Regions from separate parts of the Homo sapiens genome. Here all the other regions are linked to region 6. Evidence: promoter capture Hi-C in 16 types of primary human blood cells and fetal thymus (Javierre and others, 2016). All regions are on one chromosome and are shown on one strand. The core of a region is centred on a gene start or on the middle of the fragment in contact, and the rest is flanking DNA. Distances in the headings are between cores, read along the strand shown. Region 1 overlaps LDLRAD3 (low density lipoprotein receptor class A domain containing 3). Region 2 has its middle 15 kb from the start of FJX1. Region 3 overlaps TRIM44 (tripartite motif containing 44). Region 4 has its middle 34 kb from the start of FJX1. Region 5 overlaps PAMR1 (peptidase domain containing associated with muscle regeneration 1). Region 6 holds the start of LDLRAD3 (low density lipoprotein receptor class A domain containing 3).

Region 1 (3,933 bases), core at 224-2,723, 290 kb before region 6:
CCAATCGTGAGTCCGTTTAAAGGTTTCTATAGATGCTAGGAGAGAGTGCCTCTCCTGAGACTGTGAACCTGGGTTTTCTGGACTCTCTTTTCCATGAGCAAGCAGGGCTGAGAAACTGGCAAGGGAGGAACAAATTCCTAATGAAGGCTGTTGAGCAGCTGGATCCAGGTCTGCTTGAACCCAAAAGTTCCATAATCTTGGACTTGGTTGCTTTAGACAATATATCTTCTAAAATTTAATGCAATTAATCATGTATGAGTCAGATTTCTATAACTTACAACTAGGAGTTCTAATTAATGTCCTATGAACTTGTTTAGCTGTAGGATGTCAAGGGAGTCAGTATATTTTCTCACTGACCTTTTCCCTAAGGGTCTCACTGGGTGCATAGTTATGTACACTCATACACTTCCACTGCAGCCACCTGAATCTCTTTCTCATTCAATTCACTCTTAGAATCTACTGCTTTGCCTGTGGGTTGCAAGCTCAACGTAGAAAATGGACATACCACGTCACTCACTCCCATGGACCTTCTCTAAAAGACAGATTCCTGTAATCCCAGCACTTTGGGAGGCTGAGGCGGGTGGATCATGAGGTCAGGAGATCGAGACCGTCCTGGCTAACACGGTGTAATCCCGTCTCTACTAAAAATACAAAAAATTAGCTAGGTGTGGTGGTACACGCCTATTATCTCAGCTACTTGGGAGGCTGAGGCAGGAGAATCACTTGAACCTGGGAGGCAGAGGTTGCAGTGAGCCGAGATTGTGCCACTGCACTCCAGCCTGGGCAACAGAGTGAGACTCTGTCTCAAAAAAAAAAAAAAAAAGACAGATTGCTGTGTGAGTTCATGACCTTGAAGAACTCCCAGTAAGAGTAGTTTTTTGTTTTTTTTTTTTCCTAGGATTGCTATATTGAACCCAAATATTTAGGATTTCATTAAGAAAGCCTCTCTTCAGCTTAATCCTGTATCTTCTTATTTTGGAAGAGAACTAATAGGGGCCTTGAATTGTCTGCTTCATGAGTTTTTCTATTTTTAATTTTTTTTCTTTTTTGAGACGGAGTCTCGCTCTGTCACCCAGGCTAGAGTGCAGTGGCTCGATCTTGGCTCACTGCAAGCTCTGCCTCCCAGGTTCATGCCATTCTCCTGCCTCAGCCTCCCAAGTAGCTGGGACTACAGGTGCCCACCACCACGCCCGGCTAATTTTTCTTTTTTTTTGTATTTTTAGTAGAGATGGGGTTTCACCATGTTAGCCAGGAAGGTCTCAATCTCCTGGCCTCATGATCCGCCCACCTTGGCCTCCCAAAGTGCTGGGATTACAGGCGTGAGCCACCACACCCGGCCTATTTTTAATTTTTTGAGATTGGTGTCATTTCAAGGGTTCTAGTACTCCAAGCCATTAACACAACTGTTTCTTCTCTTCAGTGTCCTTAGCTTTACATCTATGAACCCAATGTGGAAGTGATCCTTTAGATTACTGACAAACCACAGCCCACAGGTCAAATCCCACCAGTAGCCTGTTTTTGTAAATAGTTTTCTTGGAACACAGCCACATCCATTCAATTTTGTATTGTCTATAGCTGCTTTTGCAGTTGCTACAGAAACCACACGGCCACAAGCCAAAAATATTTATTCTCTGGCCCTTTAGAGAAAGTTTATCAACCCCTGCTCTAGCTGAGTATTTTACAATCATTGCAAAGCACTAGCATCCATAAAAAATGCTCATCTTGGCATCCATAAAAATGGTATTCATGGCTGGGCGTGGCAGCTCACGCCTGTAATCCCAGCACTTTGGGAGGCCGAGGTGGGCGGATCACGAGGTCAGGAGGTCAAGACCATCTGGCTAACACGGTGAAATCCTGCCTCTACTAAAAATGCAAAAAAAAAAAAAAAAAAAAAAAATTAGCCGGGCATGGTGGTGGGTGCCTGTAGTCCCAGCTACTCGGGAAGCTGAGGCAGAAGAATGGCGTGAACCCGGGAGGCGGAGCTTGCAGTGAGCTGAGATCACGCCACTGCACTCCAGCCTGGGCGACAGAGCGAGACTTCATCTCAAAAAAAAGAAAAAAAAAGGTATTCATAAGGTACCTCGAGGGATGATGAAATGAGTAACTTGACAAATCTTTGGGGCTTGGGAAAGTCTACTCTACATCACTTGGGGCAGGGCATGACATAGCATATATTTGGGATACACATGCCTGACAGCCCAGTCTTCATTTGAGGAATCTGGGATCAATACATGATCCAAATCTTGGTACTGTGGGTCTTGCATTTGGATTTCCATGTGGATTTCATTTCGGCCAGGGCTGGAGTTACTGTCCCTGTTCATGATGGTGGTGCTGGTGACCTATGGGGCATCCTAACTTCCTTCCCAGGCAGATGTCCCTGCTGCATTGGCCAACATGTGGCTCCAAAACTAGACTTAAAAAAGCATAAAGATGTTCCCATCATTGATGGGGACAATCTGAGCCATTTGTGTTTTGAAACTAATTACTAGCCCACCTATCCAAGAGCTATAGTGTGCTCCTGAATATGTGGTCAGAATCTGTTACAGTTATCACAGCTACTTGTCCTTTTCCCTTGAACAATGCTGTAGCAAAGGCAGAAACACCCATCTTCCAATATGATTTCCCAGGGCCCATTACATTAACTGGTGTCCACAACTTTGCCTCTGTATTCCAATCATATCAGCTGCAGAATCCTGAAGCATCCATCACATTTTGAGGTCCCACCAACATATTCTTCCTTTTTCTCATTTTATTATGGCATAAATTCATTGCAAAAGCTATGACAGAAGTGACTGTCCACTGTTTATATTGCTATAAGGGAAATGAGTGGGTCAAGGACCATTTGCACAAACAGAAAGAATGAAACTGCAAATTTATTAGAAAGTATAAAAATTAAAAAACAAAACCAAGCCTAACCAAAACACAAAAAGCAACGACACACAACCTTTCCAGTTTACATTAACTTTGAGCGTCACACACTATTAACCACTTAGTTGCATTTTTTAAAAATGTCAATTTCAAGGTAGAGGGAGCTGAGTCAGGTAATAGGCCAGTCATCACAGTGTAACTAATTTAATGCTAAAATAAAACACGGATCTCATTTGAGAAAAAAAGAGATGAGACTATTTTCTGGTTGGCGTAGATTTAGGCAATGTATAAAAAAGCTTCCTGGTTGGAATGAGTTAAAAAATATTGCTGGCCACTAATGTGCCATCTTGAGTTGGAAAACAAACCCCCTCCCCCCCAAAAAAACCCTGCCGCTTTGGTGTCCTATTTATATATTTTTAAAAACATTCATTAAAAAAATCAAATCTATAATAAAAATGTCCCTGTTTGTTTTAAAAAAGCATTAGTAGGCATCCCTTATCTACTAAAACCATTTGTTTTTCCTAAGATGCCTGGAAGCAGAAAAGCGAGTGAGATTAACTCACTGCGCAATTAATTAAAATTAGAATTCTTTCCTCTAAACAACTTCCAGAGCACCAGAAAGAAGAAGGGGCCCCATCAAAGGGAGAAATAAAGCCCTTCTGACTCACAGGAGATGAAATGTTCAGCCAGAGTTCTAACACATTCTGGCTGTCATCAAAAGTTCTTTATTGGATTACTCAGAAAATAACTCAAGTGCTATTTTAAAAATGAAAGATACAGGCAGCTAGGTTCCTTTCCGTTTTTCTTTCTTTCTTTCTTTCTTTTTTTTTTTAAACAAAACAAAATACCAGTGGCTAGCTTTTCTGTAACATCCTTTGGATTTGGTTAAAAAAAGAAAGAAAAGTCTACAGAACAGGATCACTGAATGCCACTTTAGCCCCACTTCCTGCAGGCTCTGTTTTAATTAGCGTCAAACAGGTTACTGAACATTTCTTCAGCTGCGGAAAGAAGTTCTGAATGGGTGACAGCTGCCCGGAGTGGCTCTACCTGGTTCCATTTTACCCC
Region 2 (3,429 bases), core at 55-2,554, 310 kb after region 6:
TCACTGTCATTTCTGCCAGGTTGTTTGAGCCTGATACCACTTCTCACCTTGCCTTATAGAAGGCAGAAGTCTTTCATGATCTGATTTGTTCTCTCAGCACAATGTTGTCGTTAAGCAAGATGCCCCTGGAAACAATGACCAGGGATGAAAATCATGGCACCTCAACTTCCAAGTCTTATAATTTTGAACAATTTCTAATTTTCTTTGTACTTCAGTTTTCTTTTCTTTTCTTTTTTTTTTTTTTGAGACAGAGTCTCGCTTTGTCACCCAGGCTGGAGTGCAGTGGCGAGATCTCGGCTCACTGCAAGCTCCGCCTCCTGGGTTCACACCATTCTCCTGCCTCAGCCTCCCGAGTAGCTGGGACTACAGTTGCCCGCCAGCATGCCCATCTAATTTTTTGTGTTTTTAGTAGAGACAGGGTTTCACCATGTTAGCCAGGATGGTCTTGATCTCCTGACCTCGTGATCCACCCGCCCCGGCCTCCCAAAGTGCTGGGATTACAGGCGTGAGCCACCACGCCCGGCCTTCAGTTTTCTTATCCATAAAATGGAGACAAGAATTGCATCTATCAAAGAGATCATGATTAAATTCATGCGACAGATAATACATGTAGTAAGGTGCCCAGAATAGTATGTGGCACAAAGTAAAGTGTTAAATAAATCTTAGCCATTGTTATTAACCACAAGCTTTCCTGTGCAACTGCCACAGTCAGAGGCAGAGAGGCAGCGGCATGCTGCAGTGGCTCATACTGGCTCAGGAGAGTTGATGTGTGCATCTCTTCCCAACTCTGCATTCAGTGACATCACATTTATAGCTTGAAACTGGCCACAGTGGGAATGTTTACACCATGGAAATTGGCAAACATTACAGATCAACCCCTGTCCCCATCCCCTACCCAAAGCCAATTGTTAAACATTCACTAAGATACTGCTGAGTGCAAGAGAACACACTGCACCACTGAATCTGCTTTTCCACAGCTTCAAGGCTGGGTGAAAACAGGGGTCCCAGTCAGGTCAAAGGCTACTACCCAGTTAAACAGATGGGAAGAGGCAGATACTCCTCTTCTCCTGACCATGCAGTCTTCACCCCTGTACAATGCATTAGGTGAAATAACTGTTGTCATGGGACAATCATTCCAGACATCATTTCCAACCCTCCTACTACTTTTTGAACGCTTTCTTTAATCAGGGGTCTTCAACCGTAAGCAACAGAAACATACTCTGGCAAACGTAAGCAAAATGGGAATTTAATGGCAAGAATGAAGGCACTTAAGATTTGAAAGGAAGTTTGAAGTACGTAGCTTGGAATAGACAGGTCCCAGACAGCTGCAGAACTTCTGATTGCAGGCACTCCCCAACTGTCTCTCCAGCTGGACAAAATAGTTAAGAAGCAACTTTTTTTTTTTTTTTTTTAGACAGAGTCTGACTCTGTTGCCCAGGCTGGAGTGCAGTGACACGATCTTGGCTCACTGCAACCTCTGCCTCCCGGATTCAAGCGATTCTCTTGCCTTAGCCTCCCAAGTAGCTGGGACTATAGGCACGCACCACCACGCCTGGCTAATTTTTGTATTTTTTAGTAGATATGGGGTTTCACCATATTGGCCAGGCTGTCTCTAACTCCTAACCTTGTGATCCACCTGCCTTAGCCTCCCAAAGTGATGGGATTACAGGCATGAGCCACTGTGCCTGGCCAAGAAGCAACTTCTTTAAAGAGAGAATCCAGGCCAGGCACGGTGGTTCACGCCTGTAATCCTAGCACTTTGGGCAGATCACTTGAGCCCGGGAGTTCAAGACAAGTCTGAACAACATAGCAAAACCCTGTTTCTACCTAAAATAAAATACAAAAAATTAGCTGGACATGGTGGTGCCCATCTATATTCCTAGCTACTCAGGAGGCTGAGGTAGGAGGATCACCTAAGCTTGGAAAGCTGAGGCTGCAGCGAACCAAGATCATGTCACTGCACTCCAGCCTGGGTGATGGGAGTGAGACCCTGGCTTAAAAAAAAAAAAGCAGTTGCCATAGACCTGTAGGGATTTGCTACTGATTCTTTCCCGAATCAATTTCTTCACAAATTCCTCAAAAGCAAAGCCACAGAAACCTGCTGTTAAGGGAGGTCATCCAGATAGTACAGAAAAAACAAAGCCATCGTCTACAGAGTTGTTATAAACAACAATAAAAAGGAAGTACAAAAGAGGATAAAACCAGCATTCTGAAATTTGTCACAATGCAGGACAGAAGGAAAAGGAAATCCAAACAAGAAAAGGCACACCAAGGCCCCACAGTATTTCTGACAGGTTTACAAAAGACTTTCCTGAGTGCTCAGCTGGTACCCAAAGAAATGTACAGGGACCTGGGAGCAAACAAATCACCCTATGATGTCATCCCAAGAGTATAGATCCCTTGGGATTCTGTGGAGCTGTCTTCAAAGCCATCATCACATTAATCACCCTGGGCAGGAACGGGAGAAACTGGAGGTGAAAAGGGCAGATTAAGTTCTTAAGTCTTTCCCCAGAGAATGCCACATGTGAAGTGCATGCCCATGAACTCAGTAAACTCTGGGATTATTCAAGCTAAAGGCAGGCAGTTCTTCCTTTGAGGTCATTGTTTTCTGCAGTCTGATAGGCTTTGGGTTGTTGTTGTTTGTTTGTTTTCACAGATCTATGCTGCCCTCACATTCTGTGAAACACTATGGACATGAGGGTTAGTTTCCATGATCATCTCCTTTGCAGAAATGGACCACAAAACGTTTCCCACTATGGGGACTAAGAAGGTAGAGTGATCATTTGTTGTGGTTAGGGTCACTCAGCATCTATTTCTTCAAGAACATCTGGTTTTCTTTGGAAAAGTACCCAGTTGTGGTTAATGTCGTTGAGTCCTATATCTAGTTCTCCCATACATGGTTCTCTCATACATATTCATCATGCCAAAGAGTGGGCATGTGATCTAAACTCAGGACTTCCAAAGTGCCAGGATTACAGGTGTGAGCCACCATGCCCAGCCGGAAACTGCCTTTGATAGAATGGATCATGGGAGGAGAGTCATTACATAATCTTCTCATGAACTATATAGCACAGACAACGTTGGTGCCTTTAAGTAGGATTATTAAGCACAGAATGTTTTTACTACATGTATTAGTCCATTCTCACGCTGCTATAAAGAACTACCTGAGACTGGGCAATTTATAAAGAAAAGAGGTTTAACTGGCTCACAGTTCCACAGGCTGTACAGGAAGCATGGCTGAGAGGTCTTGGGAAACTAACAATCATGGCAGGAGGCGAAGGGGAAGCGGCACATCTTACCATGGCAAAACAGGAGAGAGCGAAGGGTGAAGTGCTGCACACTTTTAAACAACCAGATCCTGTGAGAACTCTGTCACTAGAGAGTACTGGGGGGACGGTGCTAAATCATTAGAAACCACCCCCATGACCC
Region 3 (3,830 bases), core at 108-2,607, 270 kb after region 6:
AAATATTTGTTGAATGAATAAATAGACCAAAAGAAAAGAAATGCCACTAACTTCGAATAATATATAAAATTATCTTAAGAAATACTATACCTCAAAGAATTGTGGTAAACATTAAATGAAAGAATATGCAGAAAGTTTAGAGAAGCAGTACAAGCTAAGTTCTCAATAAATGTTAGTTATAATTTCTGTTGTTATTATTAATTAAATAACAATACATTGAGTGACTACTAAGTATCAGGTATTGACCTAGAGAAGTGCTGAATAGAACAAAATAAAAAAAATATTTTACTAATTAAAATTATATATAATATATAGAAAGAAGACCAAAGAGAAGGGGAAAATAGTTTTAGGATATTCAGAAAGTATTCATCTATTAAATGCCTTCATATAGAAAATAAACATAAGGATAATGTGTCAGTACAACTTAGATTAAATATGAGAGGGAGTAATCAAATTTGTAGAGGCAAAATGGAATGGTGGAAAGAATATGTACTTTGTCAGGCCTGGATTCAAATCCCAGTCCTTACGCTTGCTAGCTAAGTAACTGTCAGCAAAACTTAACCTCTTTTGAGTTTCCTCATACATAAAATGGAAAACATAACAACATAGCTAATTGTGGAATTTTATTAAGGATCAAATGAAACAATATATGAAAAGGACCTGGCCACAAACCACTCAATAAATGACAGCTATTTGTTATTTTTCTCATATCTCTGGAAATTCAAACAAAATTCAGCAACAGACAAAATTCAACAACAGTCTCAAAACAACAGTCTCAAAATTCAAAAACAGACAAAAACAGTCTCAAAATTCAACAACAGACAAAGGTTTCTAGACTCTTGGTTTTATAACCTCGGCCAAAGATTAGCATTTTCATTATTTATACACATGAAGTCAGAGTCTACCAATCAACACAGGTTAGAGCCTGCCAGGGTTCACACACACTCAAAATTCACAGAGGAAAATAGTATGGGTGCCTATATAAACTTAACCTTACATCTCTCCCCATGACTGCCTACTAGAAAGAAAATGAAGGCTATTTTCCAACCAGAAAGTAAAGAGTATCTTGTCCCCACCTCCCCTCTGCTTCTATAAAAACTTCCCACAGTTCAGAATGTAAAACAGAATCTAAAGAGGACAACCAGCAAGACTTGTGAACCTAAAATTAGACCTACCAGCTGTGTTTTGGTTAGCTAGTGCATAAGGCACCAGCAGGACACTGAAATATACAGAAGCCTCTTCTCCAAAGACAAGTTTTTCTCCAGCCTATCTACCCACCAGATTAGAGCAGGCAGAAGGAACAGAAGGAGAGGGGGATGAACAGTTTGCACCCAAGAAACTTGGTGTCCAGAGCTTCTACTGCTGCCAGACTAACTTGTCTGGAAAGGAACTCAGAATAGAACCTTAGATGGCTTTATAACAGTAATAAGAATAAGAGCAACCCATTGCTGAGGGCTTATGATATTCCAGGCACTGTGCTAAACTCTTTACATCTATGATCTTGTTTGTTCCTCATCATAACTCAATAAGGAGAAACAATTACTTAGCTCATGTTACAGAAGAAGAAACCAAGACTCAGAGGCTGAGTGAATTACTCAACATTATACAGCTAGTAGGTGGAAGAGCTAAGACTCAAAAACAGACTGCAAAGCCAACTGGGTCAAAGACTGTTTGGTCCTTCAATATTCTTCTCCCATTTTTCCTTAGTAAAAGAACCTCAGCTTTTAGCTGCACACGCTGTGGCCTGGAGAAATGACTGTTTCCCAGTCTCCCTTGCAACTAGATAAGGCCAGGGTATTGAGTTCTGGCCAATGAAACATAAGCAGCAATGTATATAACTTCTCGAGAGTTCCCTTTAAAATAGAGCAGTGTGCCCAGCCAGGTGCAGTGGCTCATGCCTGTAATCCCAGCACTTTGGGAGGCCGAGGTGGGTAGATCACGAAGTCAGGAGATCGAGACCATCCTGGCCAAAATAGTGAAACCCCGTCTCTACTAAAAATACAAAAATTAGCTTGGCAGGGTGGCAGGCGCCTGTAATTCCAGCCACTTGGGAGGCTGAGGCAGGAGAATCACTTGAACCCGGGAGGCGGAGGTTGCAGTGAGCCGACATCGTGCCACTCCGTCTCAAATGAACAAACAAACAAAAATAGAGGGGTGTGCCCTTCTTCACTTTTCTATGTCTGTCATTCTGGAACTTGGACCTCCAGCAGTCATCTTGGCCCATGACACAGTAAGGATGTCAGAATGGAGCTGAAAAGAGCCTAGATTTCTGGTAACTTCATGGTTCTGCCACGCCAACCTTAGACTGCCTACACCCAAAGTTATTTTATGTGACAGAGAAATAAACATCATGTGGGAGTGGTTATTTTGGATTTTTCCAAATTATTTCATTATTTTAGATGCAGTCAAATTAATCCCAATGTAAACACTGATCTACAACAACTATGCAATACTCTCTCAGTTCTTCATTAATGCCCTGGAACTAGACAAGATTATTACACTTCCTATCACATACTTCATGTTCATCTACCATCCAGCAGGCACTGTGCTAGGTGCTGGGAATACAAAGATGAATAACATATAGTTCTAGCCTTAAAGAATTTATAACCCACCAGGGAAAGACATGGAAAGAAATAACATGACATAGTACACAGTATTTAGTGCTACAATAAATGTTCACAGGCTGTTATAATGGGAACAAAAGGATACCTCAAAGCCTGTATCTACCTAGTAACACCCTACCCATCTTTCAAGGCCTACCTCAAAGACTCCTTCCTCTAAGAATCTATTCCTGGCTCCATGCCCTCCAGTGATATCAATTTCTCTTTTCTCTCCACTTCCATAGCATACTGTTTGTACCTTTTCTCTAATACACACAAATAAGCATGTGAAAAGATTCTCTTTCCTATTAGGCTGTAAGCTTCCTGAAGTTAGAAACTTTGCTTATTCTTCTTCGTATCCACCACACAGTTCACCATAATAAGTGCTCCAAAATTATTCAGATGAATAAAATTAGTTTAAGAAAATAAAATATCATTCTCTAAAATGAAAGCCAGCTATATGTTATAGTTTGGACATACTATAATGAATGTATTTGCTAATCTTCTTATTGATGTTAAAAACCAATTATTACCTTACCAAAAACTAACTAAACCCATCTGAAGTGGGTTTAATATATAAATGTTCAACAAAAATAATCTAGCACATTATAGTATACATCAAAGTCACTGCCCATAGAGTTATTTGCCGTAAATTGTGGATTGAGCCTTTGGTATATTTGGGAAATTTTGTTTGATTGGTTGGTTTTGGTTTTTTCATTCTTGATCAGTTTTCTGACATTTAAAAAGGGCATCAATATTGATTTTTTTTGCACCTGATGCAATGTTGACTTGATCCTATCATAGCGATATATACATACACGCAAACACATGTGCGCATGTGTACACACACACACACACACGCAAATTCTCTCTCTCTCCCACTCACACACACAAGATTCAACTCTCCCAGAGCCAGCCTTCTGCATTTCTTACCCCATTCTCATCTCTACTCCCCGTATCAAGACTAAAGCTTCTGTTTCATCCATTGTCTATAATACGTCTCCTATTCTGAAAGGTCCATGAGCATCTGTGTTCCTTACTGCCACCTAACAAGTTTAGCCCCTGGTTCTGAATATTAAAACAATAATAAGAACAGGAAACTCGGCTGGTCCTCTCAGACTGAACCATAACTTCAAGCAGAACACATACGAGGCACTGATACAGATGAATCTCTGGCTTCTCAGACTTGGGTTAGGTGCAAGCGGAGAGAAAAGGTGGGTATGTCAATGA
Region 4 (3,753 bases), core at 596-3,095, 360 kb after region 6:
CTTGATTTAGTTAATTAAAATAAAATGCTGAAAGCTGATGCCTTTGGGTCCTGAACTCTTCTCCATATTGCTCTGCCCTTACTCATAGTTTTCATTCAAACCAAATATATATTCTTCTCTCCTGCCTCTTATTTTTGGAACCCAGAGCTGTCTCCCAGGAGGTGGCTTGCATTGTTAAGCTCCAGAAAGGGCAAAGTAACAGTTCCATACTCCCTTTGCATTTGGTAGTGAATAGGATGGAAACTATCCCCCAAATATCTGTTAGCCCCATGTCAAATGGATTGGTGAAGACCAGTTTTGAAGGTTCAAGAGAGAGATGAGAATTCACACTACGGGACAGGCCACTTCAGAAAGTCTGAAAAGAATGGGACAGCAAAGCTTTCCTGAGCAATGAAGAAATCTTTCTCCCATTATTTATGCACACTGCTTCACTGTTCCTTCTTTCTTTCTTGTCATACAATAGAAATAATGATCTTGGTACCAGACCCTGTGTTGTGCGAGGACAATTAATCACCCACCTAGTCATTTATTTCCTCATACTCTTCCCCACCAGGACCATTATCCTGTAGGTAAACAGAGGTGCCAGTAAATCACGGACAGAACACAGGTCAGTGGGAGAATGGTTGATTAAGCGTCTCTATAACTTAAAGTTATGTAGTACCTCTCATCCCAAAGGATCTCCAAGCACCAGATAGACTGATGTACGCACTGCTGCAGAACCCCTCTATTTGTCACTTTCTACACCTTTGCGTTAGGGGGCTGGAATGTTTATTGCCCTTTTCAGGCAGTTACCCTAGAAACTGCAGTCATGGGTAAGACAAGAGGAAAAGGAAGGAACTTTTCACTTTCCTGTCCTTTCAAGCAACAGAAATCAACTAGCAATCAGAGAGTAACCTACCCATCCTCTTGGGCAAAATTTCTTTGGTTCATGAAATGCTGCAAATATTACACAATTCCATGTTTCTTCTTTTTCTAAAGAGGGCAGCAACTGAGTAGGCATTGAGGTTGAGTGGTGAGTGTGGACAAGATCTAAAACAAGTATTTCCAGGGTAAAAATATTTAGGGTCTACTAGAATCATAGTCTAGGGGGAAATCACTGTTTGAAAATCTTCATGTTAACTCTGCCCCTTAATCTTTAGTAATAAATGGAGCCTTTTGAAAGAAAAAAGCAATTTCCACTTTTCCTCCCAGTGTTTACTTAAATTGTTTAATTATAATGCTACTTTCAAATTTATCCTTATGGCTCTGATATATATATAAAACCAAAAACAAGTTAAATTATATAATTCAATACAAGTTAAATTCAAACAAAACTACAAAGCCAATTTAACAACCTTAATTTAATGGGAAGGATGATGTTGTTTTGCTGAAACCAAATTACCTTTCAAATGAAAACATGATATTGACTGCTGCCTCATTAATTCTTTTAAATTTGGCATGTCTATGCTACTGGGTGCCATGTGATGACCCATTTTTCCACAATTTCTCTTTATTTGAACTACTATGGAAACTGCCTTTGTAAAGTATACGTATACTATCAACTTATTTGGCCTTAATTTGTGTTAACCCAACATGTCTTTGCAAAGCTTACATCTGTGCCACTGGAATAAACAAGGCCACTGGATTCCTGTGGTATGATTTGATCATGAGTCATTAGAATTATGCAGAAGATAGTAAAACTCAATTTTAAGACTATGATCAAAACGAAGACCTCCAATTAAAAAGATCCTCGTAAAAAATTTTAAGACTCCCCTTAGGGGGGCCTGTGGGAGCCATGGACCTCACATTAAAACATACATACCCAAAGACATTAGGTTTAGGTCAGTAGTAGGTTTGAAGTTGGAATCAAAGCAAAATTCTGGGCAAAAAAAAGAAGCCAAATAAAATTAAATGATTACATGACAATACAATTCATTACTCAATAGAATAATAGACTTGAGTATGGAATCTTGTTATAGGCATGTCCGAGACTGCTATATGTCCAACTGTGTCTGTTCTCTCCTTTTCTCTTTTAGTAAGAAAATTCTCCCCTACTCCATAGGTGCTTTCAGGCATCATGGCTAATCAGCTAGAGGCCACATTTCCCAGTCTCCCTTGAAGCTTGTTGTGGCCATGTGATCAGCTTCTTGTGAATGGGAGCTTGAGTGTAAGTCTTTCACATCTACTCTCTTTTCCTCTTCTCTCTGGCTGGTACTTGGATGTGGCACTGCTGAATCAGCATCAGCCATGCAGCACCACCCTAAAAAGATCTAGAGGAAGAAAATAAAAGAAACCTGGGTCCCAGGATATCCTGGCAGAGCAGAGCTGCCAACCTCTCCTCCTTACCACTATTCTGTTGCATTAGAGAGACATAAACCTCTTTGCTGTTTAAGCCACTATATTTTGAGGTCTCTTTGTTACAGCCTCTGAATCTCTACTTTAGCTGATAGGGGCAGTGGTAGTATAAGATCCTGTTCCACTCATTCAACAAAATAGATTATGTGCTTATTGTATGGCAGGTGCCAGAGAAGAAGACATTTATTTGAGATTGCCCATTTAGTTAATGGTGAGCTGGGGCAAAAATACAGGTCTTCTGACTTCCAGCCCAACACTCTTAGAACTTCATGCTTCCTTCTCATCTAGCTGTGTGGCTAATGCTTCAACTATTGCAATTAATTAGGGGAGGGCTGAGTGTTCCCAGAACTGAGTGTGACCTGGTAGGCTTTACTCTCACATGGCTTCTTAGACCCTTGTTTGTTTGGGGTTTTATTTCCTGAAAGGAAAAAATAATGATAGTCCAAGACAAATTAGAGGAGTTACTAATACAGAAGAAATGTTTATTCATCACTGCAGGACCAACCCTGTCCCCTGTGTATAGAGGGATGTACAGAGCAGCTTACAGTATTGGAGGGATTGGGCTTGCCAGCAATAACATTGGTAGGGAAAGGCAGAGGCTGGAGTATGTAGTCTAAGCCAATGTTCATGCCAGGGGAGAAAACAAACTGGAGTCAGGTTAGGTCGACCTGTCTTAATGTTCCAAAATAGAGTTTGTGGGACAAGAAAAGAAAGTAGCTGAAAACATGATTGGACATACAAGTAATAGATTTTCTTCCTCCACCCTCTAAAAGTAATTCTTTATTGGATCATCTTGTTTTATTTTCCTTAGGGTATTATAATGATCAGATATTTTCTTCTTTTTTTTTGTTCACACTTTTATTGTCTATTTTACCTAAAACAAGATATTTCCATGGCTGTGTAACTTACCACTGATTCTCTAGTGACTAGAAGAATTAGACTCTTAAAAGTATTGTTAGGCTGGGCGTGGTTGCTCATGCCTGTAATCCCAGCACTTTGGGAGGCCAAGGCGGGCAGATCATGAGGTCAGGAGTTCAAGACCAGCCTGGCCAATATGGTGAAACCCCATCTCTACTTAAAATACAAAAAATTAGCTGGGTGTGGCGCCTGAAGTCCCAGCTACTGAAGAGGCTGAGGCAGGAGAATCGTTTGAACCCAGGAGGTGGAGGTTGCAGAGAGCCAAGATCACGCCACTGTACTCTGGCCTGGGCGACAGAGTGAGACTCTGTCTAAAAAAATAAGTATTGTTGGGTGAATAAAAGAAGAAATGAACAAGCGAATGAATAGGAAATGTGACAACACAGAAAATGACCTACATAAATCAGGAAACATAGCACAGTTCTGCTTCTTTGGTGACAATGTAAAGATCATATATTGTCAATATAGACAAAGAAATACTATGCTGTTACCTCTTAGAGG
Region 5 (3,760 bases), core at 33-2,532, 460 kb after region 6:
CACTGAAGAATGGGGTAAGGAATCTCAAGAGTTTGCCTTTCAAATTCTTAGTTTGATTAACTGTCTAGAAGTTGATGCTGTTAAGTGAGTAATAAAAGGGAAGAGGTTTGGTGGGGGAAAGAAGGTGAGTTCCACATGAGATAAGCTGGAATTTGGACATCTATAAGAGACTCTGCAGACAGTAGGAAATAAGTGCCTGGAGCTCAAGAGAATTTTGGAGACTTGAGATATGCCTATGGCTGTTATAGATGGAAGCATGAGGTGAACAGAGCACCATGGGCAGAGGAAATAGCAACAGATGTAAAAGGAAAGGAAGAGAAAACCAGGAAGGAGATGGGAAAAGATAGAGAGATAGGAGGAGAACCAGGAAGGAGTAGGGTTCTGGAAGCTGGGGGCAGTGTTTCAAAGGCAGAAAGGTCACATAGGATGAAGGCAGTAAAGAGGTTTTTGTGTTTGATGGCTAGCATGCGATTGGTGACCTGAGCAATAGCAGTTTCATATAAAATTTGGCAGGGCGCAGTGGCTCATGCCTGAAAGCCCAGCACTTTGGGAGGCCAAGGCAGTGGATTACTTGAGCCCAGAAGTTCGAGACCAGCCTGAGCAACATGGTGAAACCCTGTCTCTACAAACAATACAAAATTAGCTATGCCACTGCCACTCTAGCCTGGGCAGAGTGAGACAGTTTCCAAAAAAAAAAAAAAAAAAAAAAAGGCAAGATTTGAAGTGTGAAAAATGGACAAAAAGAATACAGACAACTTTCTTTTAAATAAGCTTAATCAAGCAAGGAAGGGGAGAATTAAGGTGATAGTTTATATGAGTAAATAAACAGCTGTGGAAAAATACCAATTAAGATGGGAAAGGCCGGGTGCAGTGGCTCATACCTGTAACCCCAGCACTTTGGGAGGATGAGGCAGTCAGGTTACTTGAGGACAAGAGTTCAAGGCCAGACTGATCAACAAAACAAGATTCTGTTTCTACACAATATTAAAAAAATTCAGCCAGGCATGGTGGTGCATGCCTGTAGTTCTGGCTACTCAAGAGACTGAGGAGGGAGAATCGCTTCTGCAGCCAAGGATTTTGAAGCTGCAGTGAGCTATGATTACACCACTGCATTCCAGCCTAAACAACAGAGCAAGACCTCATCTCTGTCTCTCTCTCAAAAAAAAAAAAAAAAAAAAAAAAGATGGGAAAGGGTTAAACAGGTTTTAAGCTAATGTGAGTAAAGTGTCAGTAGGAGAGATTAAAAATATTACATATTAGAGTAAGACTAACTGAAGAAGTTAAGACCATGTTATCCTGAAGGAGAAGAACTTCCTATGAGATCAAGAACAAAAGTGAGAGTTAAAGGAGAGGGAGCTTCCTTTTCTGTCCTAGGCTGAGACAGGAGGAAAAGAATTATTTATAGGTAGCATATCTTGTTTGTTAGTAATTATATGGTAGGAACTGTGCTGAGCACTTTATGTGCCATGTCTTGTTTCATCTGTACAATCACCCTATGAAAATACATACTCCCATTTTATAGATAATGAAACTGAGGCTCAGAGCTGTGAAGTAACTTGCCTGAGGCCGTACACTTTGGGGTAAAGCCCAGGACGATTCCAGACCCCTTACTCTTGTTCTTAACCACAGTCCTAGTCTGCCTCCTGCTGGTGAGTTCTCCCGTTTTCTCTGGGAAGTAGGGAGTGAAATATCTGCTGAGAATGAGTAGAAGTGAGGTTGGGGCTTGAAAGTACCAAAGGTTTGGGGCAGCCACTTGAGGAACAAGAAAAGGCACCAGCTGGTGTTAAGCTTAAAGCATATCCAAGCGAGACGGAGGACCCAGTCGAAGCCAGAGTTCCTAGGGAGGTGATGCAGTCAGTTAGGACGTTGGCTGATGCTCTCTGGAAGTGCAGCAGCAGAAGGGAGTAAAACCAGTTGTTTTGTTGATCCAAGAATAAGCTGAGACATGACTGACCAAGGATCCCAGCTGGGAAGGACATGAAATCAGAAAGAGCCTGGTAGAGGGGCAATAGGGACAGGAGGTCTTAAGTGGAAAAGCAGGCTTGGTGGTAATGAAGTAATGGAACACATAGGTGGAATGGGTATTATGGTCAGAGAGTAGAGTTTCTAAGTTGAAGCTTTCAGGGATGGTGGTGATAAAGTGTTCAGTTTTTTTTTTTTTTTTCTGGGTAACTAACAATCTCAAAGGACAAATGTTTGTTCTTTCTCATGGGTCTGTGAGTTGGCAGGCATTCCACTGATTTCAACTGGGCTGACCTGGGCTGGTTGTGCTCCAGGCTGCAGGGCTTAGGCAGAAGGGACAGCAACCATCAGGGGATGCTCTTCTCAGGGTGGGTCGCAGAAGCACAAGAGGTCAAGCCAAACACACAGGTGCACATAAGGCCTCTGCGCACATCACACTCACCCATATTCCACTGGCCAAAAGAAGTCACATGGCTAAGTTCCCAATGAGTGAAGTAGGGAAGTATATGCCATCCCAAAGGAAGAGGGGTGGATAAATATTTCTAAACAATACTTCAGTCGCTCCATGTGAGTAAGGGGGTTTGTTCAGGGTGCAGGGGACAGGAAGGAAAGAATATTTGCATGCAAGAAGTCAATACAGCAAATGGTAACAAAACAAGGATAGCAGTCACCCAAATGTTATGAAACAGAAAATATTAATATTCAGAAATCCTGAGCATGTGTCTTTTTAAATAGCACCTACTGGTCAAATCTTGGGTTGCACCTTGGTGTAAGACGCTGTTTATGGAGCCTCATTGATTGGGCTGGTGATTGTGTCCATTTGAGGGTCCAGGCTTTCTCAAGGACAGCAGAACTGGCTCAGAGCAACCAGTCTATCACCTAGGCAGGCAGAACAGAGAGCTCACACCTTCGTGCATTAATCTACCCATCCAGTCAAAAGATATTTCTTGAATGGATGCTTCTAGGTGCTGGATGTACAATGATAAGCCAGACGGGCATGGTCTCTGACATCTTAGAGCTTGCGCTTTAGAGAGGAGATTTTTTTTAAAGTTAAAAAAATAGAATGTGGTCAATGCTATGAAATTGAAAAAACAAACTAATGGTCAGATTCTATCCGATCTGTGTTGGTTCAGTTTTGCTTGTTCAATTACGTTATGCTTGTTCTGAGAGCCTCATTCCACACAGTGTATGTTACCACTGCCATGAGCACTGATGGAGCATTTCTTATGGAGCACTGGGCTGGTCACCAGGGAACACAATGATTCCGCAATGAGTTTACAATCCATCTGTGAAAACAGTGCTTGACCATAAGAAGACATCAATATGATGTTATTAGGTTCTTATCACCCTCACCTCATACTGGCACTAAATAAATGTGTAGGGAATTCATAGGAAGAAGTAATTCATTTCACTCTTTGTTGAATGCCTGCCTGGTGCTGAGCACTATGCTGCCTGCCTACGTTAAGGGTCGCCTACATATGGCTGGGACACAGCGCCGGAGCCCCATGGCAGTGCAAGCATTTTCCCACTAGATGGCGCCCAAGCGATCCTTTCAGACAACGTTATCCTGAAGGCGCTTCCTTCTGAGTGTCTCTGAAGAGCCTGGGCATTTTTTTTTCCTGAGTACCATACAGAGCCTTAGAAGGAGGGAGGAGTGGCGGGCAAGTGCCAGAAGGATCAGAGCTGTTTTATATGTGGGTTAGAGAGCATCTGGCACTGAACAGATGCAGTAGCACCTTTATTTGCTCACTGTCCTTGACAATGTTTATATTACTAACCTAACTAATGACAACCTTAA
Region 6 (3,931 bases), core at 1,409-3,908:
GATACAGAATGTCAGGAAGTCTAGGCAAAGGTCAGTCCTGGAGGAGGTGAGAAGATGGACCATCATCCAGCATGGCTGCCTTTAGAAATGTCTCAAGCCATACGCACTTAAACCCACTGAGTCCACCCACATGCAGGAAAACTGGACATCAGATGACATGACTTGGGCTTAGTCTCTCTCGCAGGATACATTAAAAAATAGTAACGGTGAAAATCAATGCTTCACTTCCCTAACACAAATAAAAACAAAGGAAGAAAAAAATATGCAAGGTGTCTGAGAAGGTTCCTGAATAAAAAAGGCCTCCAAACTGCTCTTGGAATGTCAGTGGCTTTCCAGCCCCACAAAGACTCAGGACTCTAACTACGGTTCAACCTTGACCCTGGGATTCTTTCACAGACTATCAGATGGAGACAGAGATCCAAAGTCTTGGCTTTTACAATCTCTCTTGTTTTATCAACTTCCCAGAAGAGGATCCAAGCATAGGCCATGGGATGGAGGGGTAGGGTCTCTGGTCTGGCTATGAAACCCAAACTGAACCAAACAGGCTTTTCTTATGGGCTGGGAGCCCAGGAGCATCTAGTTGACATTAGGAAAAAGGACCAGCCCTGTTTCTGGCAACACTTGGGTCAAAGTGAAATCTATGCTAAAAAGATGATGCTTAATGTAACATGAAAGATGCACACACTCCAACCTGCCTAGATGTTTCTAAGGCAGCAACTCTAAAGGTAATTCAAAGCCCACAGATAATGGAAAACCCACCAGGGACAGTTGGACTATTCCTCCCCCTATCCGTCTGCTCCTTGCTATGACCATTTTATTTATTTTAGCCCTATCTCAGATGTACACACACACATTAAATAGCCACTGCTGACCAGAGAGGGACAAAATTAACTTTACAACTATTTTTACAGAGATGGAGACTCAACTAAAGCAACCCAGTACCAACTGGGAGATGCAATAAATAAGTTTCCATTTGGCTACAGTGGCTCTCCCAGGACACACACAAGAGCCAGCTTCCATACTGTCCTTCTCAGGTGCTATGAGGGGACACACCACAGCTACACAGATTGAATTTGTGAATCCAAACAGGTCTTCATATCTGTAGACGCCCTGAAAATCGACCTGCTCTAACAGCCTCCAAACAATTCACACCTGCTCCTGGCTGCCCAATGTCCTGTGAGAACTCTCTCCCCAGGTGGACTAATTTAAGGGCACTCTCACCCAGACCTGGTTAAAAATCCACAGCAGTCACCAGGAGGTCTAGTCCCTCCCTGGAAGCCCAGCAAACCCATAAGCATCTAAATGGGGTATCAGAGGAGTGGAGATGATGTCATGGGTCTGAGAGCAGGAAAGGCTGCCCAGTGGGCTGTGAGGATGCCCAGGACCAGGGACATCAAGGAAGAGAGGAGATATCCCTTTAACGCATTCATAACTCCAAGGCACAGCTAAGAATGAAGTGAGCCTCAACTTAGCAAACCCACAGGCCACCAAAGACACCTCGACAGCCAAGCTGCTAGAAGCACTTGGCAAAATAGGGCAGCTATTGGACATGTGGATGGCACAAACACCAGGCAGGCAAGATTCTGCTGAAGAAAGTTCACTGGGCCCTGTCACCCACATTCTAGGCATCAGATGCCCAGAAATAAACGTCAAGGGGCCAAGGGCGGGCCCAGTCCAGGAGGGACAGCTGACAGCTGTGGGCGGCGGGCAGGGGCAGAGGAGGAAGGGCTCCCAGGCTGGAATTCGGATCATGCCCACATCAGCAGAAAAGTTCCTGGGAACAGCACGCTGTCTGGAAGGGAAAGAGGCTTGCTGCGGTCCAGGCCCCGGGATGCACACGCGGTGGTGATGCCAGGTTCAAAGGGCCGCCGGATGAAGCCCCGTGTCCTCTCCCAGGGCCCCTCGCCGGTCAGGGCGCCCATCGCGGGGCAAGTAGGGTGGTCAGACGTCTTAAATAAAGCTTCGGTTCCCAGGATCAGTGGGGAAAAATGAATTCCCAGATCCGGCCTTGCTTCAACTCACTTTACCCAAACCAAACAGTCCCAGAGAGGAATGAAAGGAAGCAGCTTTGCTACTCCCTCCGCGGTGCAGGTGGGGAAACTGAGGCACGGAGTGCACGCCAGAGACTCGGGAAGAGGCCCAGAGGAGGCTAACGCAGCCGCGCGCGACCAGGCGTCTGGGAAGATGAGACCAGGGAAGAGTTCTCTCCTCTCCTCTCCTTTCCTTTCCCCGCCTCCGTTCCTCAACACACACAACACACACACAGCCACACTCGAGCTACGCCCAATCGGGGCAGCCGCCGGGCTCCCCAGACCCGGACTGCACACAGAGCCCCGCCCGCGCACACAGCACAACACGACCCGGCGCGCACGCCCACACAATAGGACGGCTCGCACCCCGCGGCGGCCCCTCGGCAGGGTCCGGGCCAGCCCGGCGCCGGGGTCCGCCCTCCGCGCTCACCCACGCCCGGAGAGCGGCCCGCGCCCGGGAGAGGACGCGATCGCACCCGGCCGCTGCGCCCCGCGCCCCGCGCCCCGCGCCCCGCGGGAAGTTCGCCGGCCGCCCCCCGACTCACCCGCGGCGCTGCTCAGCAGCAGGCACAGCGGCCCCAGCAGCCACATGGCGCGGCCGCCGCTCCCGCTGCCCGGCGTCGTTGCTGCCCCCGCGGCCTCGGCGCTGACCCCGCCCCTCGCCGCGCCGTCCCCGCCCTCCCGCCTGGCCCTCCTCCCTCCCGCCTTCCCCGGGCCCGGCCCCGGCCCGGCTCCGCTAAGTTTTGCAAGCGCCTGGGCTGCGCGTGGCCACCCGCATGTTACCCTGGGTGTCCTGACTCCGAGGGGCCGCCGAGCGCGGCGGAGGGTTCAGCCTTTCGGTCTCTCAGCCTTTCAGCCTCCCAGGTCTGGCCGCGAGGATCTTCTAACAGCCTGGGCTCTGTTCTCTGCTTCCTTTTGTCCCTCTCATTTCTGCCTTTGCTTCCACACCCAGCGAGATGCAGCGCCCAGACCAAAACTTGAGTTCTTTACTCAAACTACAAAGTGAGTTTACTACCGAGAGAGAAAAAGTTAAAATAAAGGGTCAAATCTTATGAGAAAATTGTAGTATATTTTTAGTAGCGAGTGTGGAATACCAGTGCTTCTCAAACTTTAATATGCATCCGGCACACTTGACGATCTTGTTAAAATACTGACTCTGGTTCAGTAGATCTGGCGTGGAGCCTGAGATTCTGCATTTTTAACAACATGGTGGCTGATTCCAAGGCTGATGATCCGGGAGCCACCGGTAAGAGCAGCTGACACCTACCATGCACACAGCGTGGACCACATGAGTTATTTTGTCTGCATAGTGTCCACCTTGACCTGTTGAACGTTTGGGACCCAATTTGGAAAAAATAAAATTAAAAAAAGGAAAAGGTCATGAAAGGCAGATACCCAAATGCAAAAAATATAGCTGCACCAATGCACTTGCTTCCAGAGGGCACTGGTGAAAAGCCCCAAAAGACTTAGATGGTGGAAGAAGGGGATGACACTTCTGTGCTCCACTCTCTCTGATCCCCCACCCAAAAAAAGCAAAAGACTAACGCAAATAATTGCCAAAAACTGGAAACAACTCAAGTGTCCATCAATTGATAAATGGATCAATAAATTAAAACTTTTGGGGGCAGTGGGACTGTTCTAATCTTGATTATAGAGGTAGTTACACAACTGTATACATTTGTCAAAACAATAGAACTGCATCCCTAAAATCCACCCCTCAAAAGGGTTGAGTTTATTTACACAAACTCCACCTGGCTGAAAGAAAGGGGAAGGTATGGGTACAGGGGCAGTTATAAAAGGGATGCCTGCGTCAGATTTTGGGATGCCCTGGAGACACCCTCAAGGGTGTTAAGATTCAATTACTTTACTCTGTAATTGCGTGCTGTAGTCTGGAAACATAA

What was found. Contacts are between HindIII fragments. The CHiCAGO score rates a contact against its expected background, and 5 or more counts as called.
Region 1: a fragment that was not itself captured here is called in contact with the fragment with the promoter of LDLRAD3 in region 6 in 1 of 17 cell types (endothelial precursors); the score reaches 5.6 in endothelial precursors.
Region 2: a fragment that was not itself captured here is called in contact with the fragment with the promoter of LDLRAD3 in region 6 in 1 of 17 cell types (endothelial precursors); the score reaches 7.3 in endothelial precursors.
Region 3: a fragment that was not itself captured here is called in contact with the fragment with the promoter of LDLRAD3 in region 6 in 1 of 17 cell types (endothelial precursors); the score reaches 5.8 in endothelial precursors.
Region 4: a fragment that was not itself captured here is called in contact with the fragment with the promoter of LDLRAD3 in region 6 in 1 of 17 cell types (endothelial precursors); the score reaches 5.1 in endothelial precursors.
Region 5: a contact is called between a fragment that was not itself captured here and the fragment with the promoter of LDLRAD3 in region 6, in 1 of 17 cell types (endothelial precursors). The highest score is 5.4, in endothelial precursors.

The regions. Positions count from the first base shown.
Region 1 is chr11:36,231,059-36,234,991 of GRCh38, reverse strand. It overlaps LDLRAD3 (low density lipoprotein receptor class A domain containing 3), which reads right to left. Exons shown (of 6, transcript NM_174902.4): 6 at 2,856-3,933. Among named protein-coding and RNA genes, the nearest start is that of COMMD9, 56 kb to the left of the region's middle. The HindIII fragment of the contact is 3,387 bases long and covers 1-3,166 here.
Region 2 is chr11:35,631,503-35,634,931 of GRCh38, reverse strand. No RefSeq gene overlaps it. Among named protein-coding and RNA genes, the nearest start is that of FJX1, 15 kb to the right of the region's middle. The HindIII fragment of the contact is 1,232 bases long and covers 689-1,920 here.
Region 3 is chr11:35,673,866-35,677,695 of GRCh38, reverse strand. The region is part of intron 1 of TRIM44 (tripartite motif containing 44); the gene reads right to left. Among named protein-coding and RNA genes, the nearest start is that of TRIM44, 13 kb to the right of the region's middle. The HindIII fragment of the contact is 3,131 bases long and covers 1-2,922 here.
Region 4 is chr11:35,582,392-35,586,144 of GRCh38, reverse strand. No RefSeq gene overlaps it. Among named protein-coding and RNA genes, the nearest start is that of FJX1, 34 kb to the left of the region's middle. The HindIII fragment of the contact is 514 bases long and covers 1,589-2,102 here.
Region 5 is chr11:35,485,620-35,489,379 of GRCh38, reverse strand. The region is part of intron 3 of PAMR1 (peptidase domain containing associated with muscle regeneration 1); the gene reads left to right. Among named protein-coding and RNA genes, the nearest start is that of PAMR1, 38 kb to the left of the region's middle. RefSeq lists a silencer at 3,392-3,441. The HindIII fragment of the contact is 1,017 bases long and covers 774-1,790 here.
Region 6 is chr11:35,942,789-35,946,719 of GRCh38, reverse strand. It overlaps LDLRAD3 (low density lipoprotein receptor class A domain containing 3), which reads right to left and starts at 2,658. Exons shown (of 6, transcript NM_174902.4): 1 at 2,576-2,658. The coding sequence starts at 2,621. RefSeq lists a silencer at 2,308-2,747. The HindIII fragment of the contact is 2,245 bases long and covers 1,963-3,931 here.